3 separate regions of the Homo sapiens genome follow, and regions 2 and 3 are each linked to region 1. The links are contacts of gene promoters, found by promoter capture Hi-C in blood cells and fetal thymus (Javierre and others, 2016). All regions are on one chromosome and are shown on one strand. Each heading gives the region's core, a stretch centred on a gene start or on the middle of the fragment in contact. The rest is flanking DNA. Distances are from core to core; before and after follow the strand shown. Region 1 holds the start of BMPR1B (bone morphogenetic protein receptor type 1B). Region 2 overlaps BMPR1B (bone morphogenetic protein receptor type 1B). Region 3 overlaps BMPR1B (bone morphogenetic protein receptor type 1B).

Region 1 (2,700 bases), core at 26-2,525:
AGTCACTGACCTCACCTTGCTGGAAAGGTGGCTAAGAAAAGAGCAGTTTCTAATAACTCAAGGGAACTGCAGCGTTTCCATTCAGAACAAACAGCAGGACCCAGCTGGAGGGGTGCAGCTCTAAAGAAGTAAGACCCGCACCACAGCGGACAACTTCCAGAGGCTCTTCTCCAACACCGCCAAACACAGGCGGAAACACGGAGCCTGGACAGAAAGAGGGACGAGCAGAGAGATGGGCGCAGAGAGCAAGAGACAGGGGAGCCAGGAAGACCGGGAGCGAAAGCCTCTTGAGAGAGAGAGAGAGACCAAAAGATTGTGCGAAAGTGACAGAGGGAAGAGGATGAAGGGACAGAGGAGGGACACACTGGGAGAGCCAGAGCAGGCGGTGGGGAGAGGGAGACAGACGCACGGAAGGAAAGAGAGACCGGGGGGAGAGGCAAAGGATAGCAATAAGGAGAGGAAGGGAGAAAGGAAGAAAAGGGAGAGAATGAAAGACCCAGAACTTGAGAGAGAGGCATAGAGAGAGAGAAGCAGGAGAGAGAGGAGAAGAGACAGGCAACTGAAGCAGAGACGGAGCCCAGTCCAAGGCGCCGGGACCAGCCCGCTGCGCACTTTCCCCCACGGCAAGGCTGGGTCTCGGGAGGCGTCCGGGGCAGGTGGGTGCCTGCGGGTCCCGCCTGGGCTGGCCCTGGGCCCCCGCCCCGCCGGGCTCCCTCCCATTTCCCGGATTCCGCGACTGCCCTCAGCTCGCCCTCCCGCCCCATCCCTCCGCTCGCAGGTCCGACTCCCTGCCTTGGGGCGTCCCTACAGCCCGAAGCACGTGTCCCGCCCGCCGCCGCCGCTGCCCCGACTCCTCGCCTGCGCAGGCACGAGGCCTCGGGGTCCCGGCAGAGCCGCCCGCGCACAAAGCCGAGGCGGCCACCGCCTGACCCCCTCCCCGCCGCCGCCACCGCCCCACGGCCGCGCAGCCCGCCCTCGCTCTCGCCCTCTCCCTCGCGCGCTCCGTCCTGCCTAGGGCGACCGCCGCCCAGCTCCGCACCCAGCCGCTACCCGTCCCGCGCCGCCCCTCGCTCTGCCCGGCTCTCGCCGGCTCGGCCGCCTCCCGCGCGCTCGGGAACTCGGCCACCCGCAGGGGACGGGGCCCCGCCGCGCGCGCCTTACCCGCGGCTGCGCTCCCGGCTCCCGCGTCCTCAGCGCCGCGGTCTCCGCACTGCCCGGCGTCCCGCGAGGCCCCGCCGACTCCGCGCCCCGCGCCCGGCTGCGCCGTCAACTTCTGGCCGCCGCGGCCGCTCCGCCGCCGCCGCCGCCGCCACCGCGGGACTTTTTTTTTTTTTTTTTTTTTTTTTCCCTCTCGCTCCTCGGCTGCCTCTGGAATTTTTTTTTTTCACTTGCCCTCTCCAGCTCCCACTAGTGATTGGAGACTGAGAGCCAAGTACTTAGCGGAGGGATTACACTTCTCAACGCACTTGGAGCGGCCCCAGCGCCGCCGCCTGTGTGCGGAGTGCGGAGCCGACTTGGGGAGCGGCGGGGTGCGGGCCGGAGGCAGCCCGGGTACAGGGGTGCGCTTCCCAAGCCCCGTCCGCTGCTCAGAGCATCCCCAAGATTTCCCTCATGGGTCCTGTCCTGGTTGTTTAAGAAGGTTTCCAGAAAACCTCCTGGTTTGAAGAACAAAGATTCGTGGAATTATTGTACCTTGAGAGCTGGAAAGGGCTCGCAGAGATGATATAATGTCGTGGATTTCAACTTTTCGGGGCCATAGACACTTTTCAGAAATTGATAAAACGTTGACACACCTTGTAAAAAATGAACACATTAAAATTAAGCCTGCAGTTTGAGGTGGGGGTTTTAAGAATCTTGAAATATATACAGTTGAGCGTCCAAGGGAAATGAAATATTTCCCTTCTACATATTTTTTGAAACCGTTAAACGAAAACAACCACCAAAAAATTAAAAATAAAAAAATAAAACCCAAAAGAGAAAACCCATTCCATTTGTATTTGATGACAGTTTACAGTTAGTCGTGTTTCTTTTGGAAAAGTATGTAACGTCTTATACTTTGTGGTCTCCTTGCTAAGTCTTTAAGTGTTGAAACACTTTCTAAGTGGGTAAATATAAAGTAAGCTAGTTCACAGTCAGAAATTTGGGGAGAATAGTTAACCTCTTTAAAATCAGCCATTTTGCCAACTCTATTTCCCAGGGAGATATCTCGTGACTTCCAAATACTCTTTTCCTTTCAATACCTTTCAGCTTCCCACTCTCCAGCATTACTTATTTTCTCCTTCTGTAAAATTTTTTTCCTCCAAAATATTGACAAACAGTCTCTGGTCACCACCAAGTGTGTGATCTAAGTCATTTTTTTTTTTAACAGTTTTTCACCCTGAAGTAACTTTCTTCCAATTTTCTTCATATCTATTTCTATATTCAATTCTTAGCCTACTATTTTCTTTCAACTACTCCCTTTTCTTAAATTGTTTCTATTAAATCTTTTTTAAACATTAAATGTAATCTTTTTGCACTTATCAATAAAAAATTCATTTGTGTATCAATTTATTTTATGCAGCTTGCACTTAAAGCAGGCGGTGCCCCCAGTGTTTATTGAGTGTATGAAGATGTGGTCATGTTTTTTCTATAAAAGCAATGTTAGAGTCTCCACAAAGGTCTTTTTGCCCCATGATATATCTGCATTGTGATTTCTAATGC
Region 2 (2,700 bases), core at 104-2,603, 300 kb before region 1:
TCAGATAATTCTGTAGGACCTATAGAAATACATCATCATTATTTTCGGTAGTAACATTTGCTGAATTCTGAAGTTCAAGTGAGAAATATTAAAGTGTTTTTTAAAATAATTTTCAAAACATTTAGTTGATAAATAACTCATTTGCTAGCCAATATCAATTCACTACAAACAAAAGAGTCCTGGAAGTATTTATATTGCTATCATAAGTGACAAGAGTAGCCATGTTAAAGGTTTTTGATTGTCAATATAATCCAAACCCTCTTCTAGAAAAACCAGACAATAATAGACACTGTGAGCAGGTGCAGTTTTTCTAGAAAAGGGTTTGGATTACACTGGCAATCAAAAACCTTTAACATGGCTAGTAGGTTACCTTTGATTATTCTAAGGGTCCGCAGCCAATCAAATTCTCCCTCCAAAGAAATTAAAAATAAAAGTGCAGCACTTTGGGAGGCCAAGGCGGGTGGATCACAAGATCAAGAGATTGAGACCAACCTGGCCAACATGGTGAAACCCCGTCTCTACTAAAAATACAACAAAAATAGCTGGGCGTGGTGGCGTGTGCCTGTAGTCCCAGCGACTCGGGAGGCTGAGGCAGGAGAATCACTTGAACTCGGGAGGCGGAGGTTGCAGTGAGCCAAGATCACACCACTGCACTCCAGCCTGGTGACAGAGTGAGATTCTGTCTCAAAAAAAAAAAGTGAAACATCTGTCAGTTAACTCTGCAGAGCTAAGCAAAATGGTCTTGGAACATTAGGGACTGCAGCCACCATTTTGAGTCAAGCAAGAAACTATAAGTATGTCCAGGGACATAGATTCCTCTATACACCAAGCCTGTGCTATACACTCAAGACACAACAATAAATAAAATGGACAGAGTTTGTTCTTCTGAGAAGCTTAGCTTCCAGCAGGAGAGTGACATGTATAATGATAAATTATGATATGTACCATAAAGGAAAAATAAAACACAATGAGGGATTATATCAAAGGGGTTTCATTTAATTTAGATTGTTAAGGAAAACTTAACTAAATGGCACTTATGCAAATGCATGGATAAACAGAGTAGAAAGGCAAAGAACTTTCCAGACTGTGAAAACAGTATATGTGAAGTACCTGAGTGAGAAAAAGGTTGGATCATTTTTGTCTTGTTTTGTTTTGTTTTGTTTGTTTTCAGGCCTATATGGCTGATGCTCAGTAAGCAGTGAGATGAGCTGCAAGATGAGTCAGGAGCCAGCTGATATCAGACCTTTGCAGGACACAGAAAGATCTGGATTTTATCCTAAATACAAGGAGCGTCCATTAAAGAATTTTAAACAAAAAGAAAAGAAGGGAGCAGACGCACACAGCGAGAGTGGAACGTGCACAAGGCCCTCAGAGAGAGACAGACATAGACAAGGAGATGTTCCGGTCCTCCTGGCCTGCTGGGTCCCATGAGGCCTGTGTTTCCTTTAGTTTTTCTTTATGTCTCCATTAAACTTCTTTCTCTACTTAAGATTCTGTTCTTTATAACCAAAATATCAATACTATGATTTTATATAGTTAACTAATCATCAAAAGAATGTAACAGAGATAGTATCAAGCAGAGTAATCAGTTAATCCGGAAAGATATTTTCCAAGTTAAAAGAAACATGGAGAGGTCTAGAGTAAAAATAGAGTGCAAAGTCACAAGATCATCCTTATGTATTTTACTATTCACTTTTCCAAACCAACAAATATATATTAATATAGACAAAGTCTCTATTTTACAGATAACAAGTATAATAATCAAGACCAAAAGAGGCCATCTGGACCTAAAATGCAGCATAAGAAAGCTTCACAGAAAACTTAGCTGATTAAGATAATTGTTCTATAATTAGTTGTCAATATTTTCTCTTATTTGAGGATTTGTTCAAATTCTTATATGAATTCTAAAAATAGATATGCATTTGAAAAGTTGGGGGAAGAATTCATAGATTTATTCCTGGCAATTCTAAATCAATAAAAGATTTGTACAATGTTCTAAATCAATAAAATATCTGTCCAATGTTATTTCAGATTCAGTTGGCTTACAGAGAAAAAAGAAACTAATTTGAGTTATTTTGCTGTTCCAATGTTTTTTCAAAAGCCTTCATATATTTGTAATTTACAAGTTTGAATTATACTATGTACAGACATTTATACACAGATAAGACTTGCATACGGTTGCTAGCATTTTGAAAATAATAAAAAAAGGTGAAACCAAATAATTTCAGTCTGTACTTGGCAATTACGTGAAATTACTATCCAATCTAATGAGCAGAACTTAAGTTGAAAACTATAGTTTAGCCATTTTCTTCCCAGGTAAATTACCAGAGATCAAATTTCTTACATCTGTGATGCTCACCACAACTTGCAGTTACTGCCGATTAATAGCCTGAGATTAAGAAATGCCACAAAATAGCTGTAGTAGAAAACATTTTAAACACATAACCACATTTATGCATTTAACAGCTGTGTTGGTCTAACAGTTCAGATTTTCAGTATATTTTGCCATATGGTAATAAGGATCATTTTTCACTTAAAATATTACCAAAAACTGATGCCGCATAGCAATATTATCATTCTAATTGTGAAACTACCTATTCACAGCCATGTTTGTTATCCTCCTCTTACTGGATTCCCTATTTGCCCTGATTATACTAAAAAAAAATGTATAACCTATTTTTTGAATTTTAAATTAGTGTC
Region 3 (2,700 bases), core at 73-2,572, 320 kb before region 1:
CACATTACTGTTTTACCAAATCACTCCATAATAGTAATAATACTACATCACCATCAGCCGGTGTATGTACATTTGATTTCTCTTTTTCCCAGTAGGAAGGATAGGTTTTCCTATGTCTTCCGTGTTCCATTACTACAAAATACAAGCTATTGGCTGGAGTCTTTCCTTTCTCCTACCGTTATACCTGTCCCTAACCAATGTTACTGTAATACTCTCTGATCTCCTTCCCATTTCTATCATCTAGTGTTTGCACTGCTGCCTTCTAAAGACAACACACGTGCATATGCTTGTAAAGCGAATAAAGTAAAGCAAATAAAAATCTCTAACAGTTCTAAGGTTCTTAGGAAGGCATTCAATGTTCTTCATGAACTGATTCAATCTTCCATTCCAGCTTCATCTTCTACTATAGTCTGCTCCCTATCCATACCTTATTCTAATTAGATGTACCATGTTTTTGTATTCCCATGTTTTTGCTTATAATTCTGATTGTGTTTCTTTTTTAACGTTTCCACAGAACTTTACTGTGTTATATATTTTACTCTACCTTAGTTGCACACACATGTTCTGGCCTACCAACTACCTCCCTCTTATTCCAAGTAGCATAATTTATTTACATATGAGTCACTCCACTGATTACTTGGATAATTAGCTGTGTGACCTCAGACAATTTACTTAACCTCCATGAACTTTCATTTCCTCATCTGTAAAATGAAGATGATAATAATACTTATATATGTAAAATGCTTTTAGTACCTAGAACAGTTTGCCTCATATAAGTGTGAGCAATTTATATACTACTATTAGCTACAATCTTCAAAAACTTCATTGTTTGATGTTAACTGGCTCACATATGCATCCAACTCTGATTTTCAGTCTTGCAAATTTTTGAAGAAAGACATTTAAATTTCTAAGTATAAAGTATTTTTAAAGACTAGATTATAACTTTTCATAGTAGTTTTACATTAGCAAATACATACATTATTATAATGAACTAAAAAAGACAAGCTAACTATAGCATAAGACCAATCTCAAGTATAATACTAATAAAGTTGGAATGGATTCCTGCAGAGTACAAATTAAGCTCATCCCTCCCATCAAAGCATCAGTTCATCCTAAAATTTTACTACACATACAGTGAAATGAGGGTTGTAAGTCAAGTTAGGACTCTTGGGAAGAAATAAGCCTATTCACTGAACACTTCCATTTCTGCATACAATTTAGAAACTATTTTTGAATGTCTTCTGTACATTTTAGTATTTACACAAAAATATGCCTTGTTTTATAGTTACAGGATATTCATAGTTCAATGCCTGGGTCTTCTCTTCTTTCTCTCTTTGCACTAGACAAATTAACAAGTCTGATCCTTCAGCCCAACTAGAAAAAAAAAGAATGGACATCAGGCTTGTGAGAGTGGCTGGATGGAAGGGGAAAGAAAGCTATGGACAGAAGCCTTACAGTAATATAAACCAAAAGGCAGGCCAACTAGTACCACTGTATCTGAGTGCCTACTTGGAAACATGGAAATAACTGACTGTGTTCTATAAAGTATGAGAGACAGAATATGAAAATTCTCTCAAAAAATATGAGAGACAGAAGCCTTACGGTAATATAAACCAAAAGGCAGGCCAACTAGTACCACTGTATCTGAGTGCCTACTTGGAAACATGGAAATAATTGACTGTGTTCTACAAAGTCTTTCTACTCCAAACTGAGGACTATATGGGTAAGAATTATAAAGGCAAATTAAACAACAATCAAAACTGGGCATAAACACTCAAGTACACAATGGCTATTAAATGATACAGGATTATATTCTTTCATTAGCATCATACTACTAATACTATTAATATATCGTCTACATACAACATGTGAAAATAAAGTACCGCTATCATGCATCTAAAAAACAGACCAACAATAGATTCACTATTAACTGCCTAAAAATCATAAGTATAGCAGTCACTTTCCAATAGAAAATAATTATTAGAAGTGAATATTTACTAAGTTACTGTGAAACAGATCCAATACCTTTTATACAGACTCTGAGAAGAACAGATGGTGAAAACAGTAAAAATTCCAGTGGAAACTATGCCTAATTATTATTAAATTTATGAGGCTTGTCTTAAAGATAAGGTTTGAGTTAAATAACAGCTATCAGCACTTTAGAAAGACACATTTAATCTTAAGACCTACAGTGTGTAAAGCAGGATGGTAAATTACTTAAGAGTAAGTGGGATGTTCTTTAGAGGAATACATTTATCAACAAGACTACAAATTTTTGGTTTCCAGGTCAGTGCCTACTTCTGCAAATGTTAAGCCTCATGAAAAAAAGAAATATGCAGATGGATGCTTTACTTCTTTGCTCATCCCAAAACATACCTCTATTTCATATTTAAAATAATCATGAGCAGGCATGTAACTTTTCTGACTTTTCTATCTGATTTCAGGTCCAGGTATTTTTAAATTTCCATTACCAAACTCAGGTCCAGGTTTTTTTTTAATTTCCATTACTAAATAACAGTAATTTACCTAGAGTAGCAGCAAAAACAGCATAACTACTCTAGCTTCACAGTACTTTGTTTACTTTAGCAATTTTTCATTCATAAAAGACTGTGCTTTTGAAAGTGACTGAATATATATTTAGGCATCCTTATATTATTTGTATCATATTAGAACCAAGAGAACAGCTGCAGTCCAAGGTAG

The links. The method cuts DNA at HindIII sites, captures the fragments that hold promoters and counts their contacts. A CHiCAGO score of 5 or more calls a contact.
Region 2: a fragment that was not itself captured here is called in contact with the fragment with the promoter of BMPR1B in region 1 in 1 of 17 cell types (fetal thymus); the score reaches 5.6 in fetal thymus.
Region 3: a contact is called between a fragment that was not itself captured here and the fragment with the promoter of BMPR1B in region 1, in 1 of 17 cell types (fetal thymus). The highest score is 7.8, in fetal thymus.

The regions. Positions count from the first base shown.
Region 1 is chr4:94,756,530-94,759,229 of GRCh38, reverse strand. It overlaps BMPR1B (bone morphogenetic protein receptor type 1B), which reads right to left and starts at 1,275. Exons shown (of 13, transcript NM_001203.3): 1 at 1,162-1,275. It overlaps BMPR1B-DT (BMPR1B divergent transcript), which reads left to right and starts at 1,697. Exons shown (of 3, transcript NR_121610.1): 1 at 1,697-1,836. The HindIII fragment of the contact is 4,388 bases long and covers 1-2,700 here.
Region 2 is chr4:95,055,250-95,057,949 of GRCh38, reverse strand. The region is part of intron 3 of BMPR1B (bone morphogenetic protein receptor type 1B); the gene reads right to left. Among named protein-coding and RNA genes, the nearest start is that of BMPR1B, 300 kb to the right of the region's middle. The HindIII fragment of the contact is 915 bases long and covers 896-1,810 here.
Region 3 is chr4:95,074,586-95,077,285 of GRCh38, reverse strand. All of the region lies in intron 3 of BMPR1B (bone morphogenetic protein receptor type 1B), which reads right to left. Among named protein-coding and RNA genes, the nearest start is that of BMPR1B, 320 kb to the right of the region's middle. The HindIII fragment of the contact is 9,640 bases long and covers 1-2,700 here.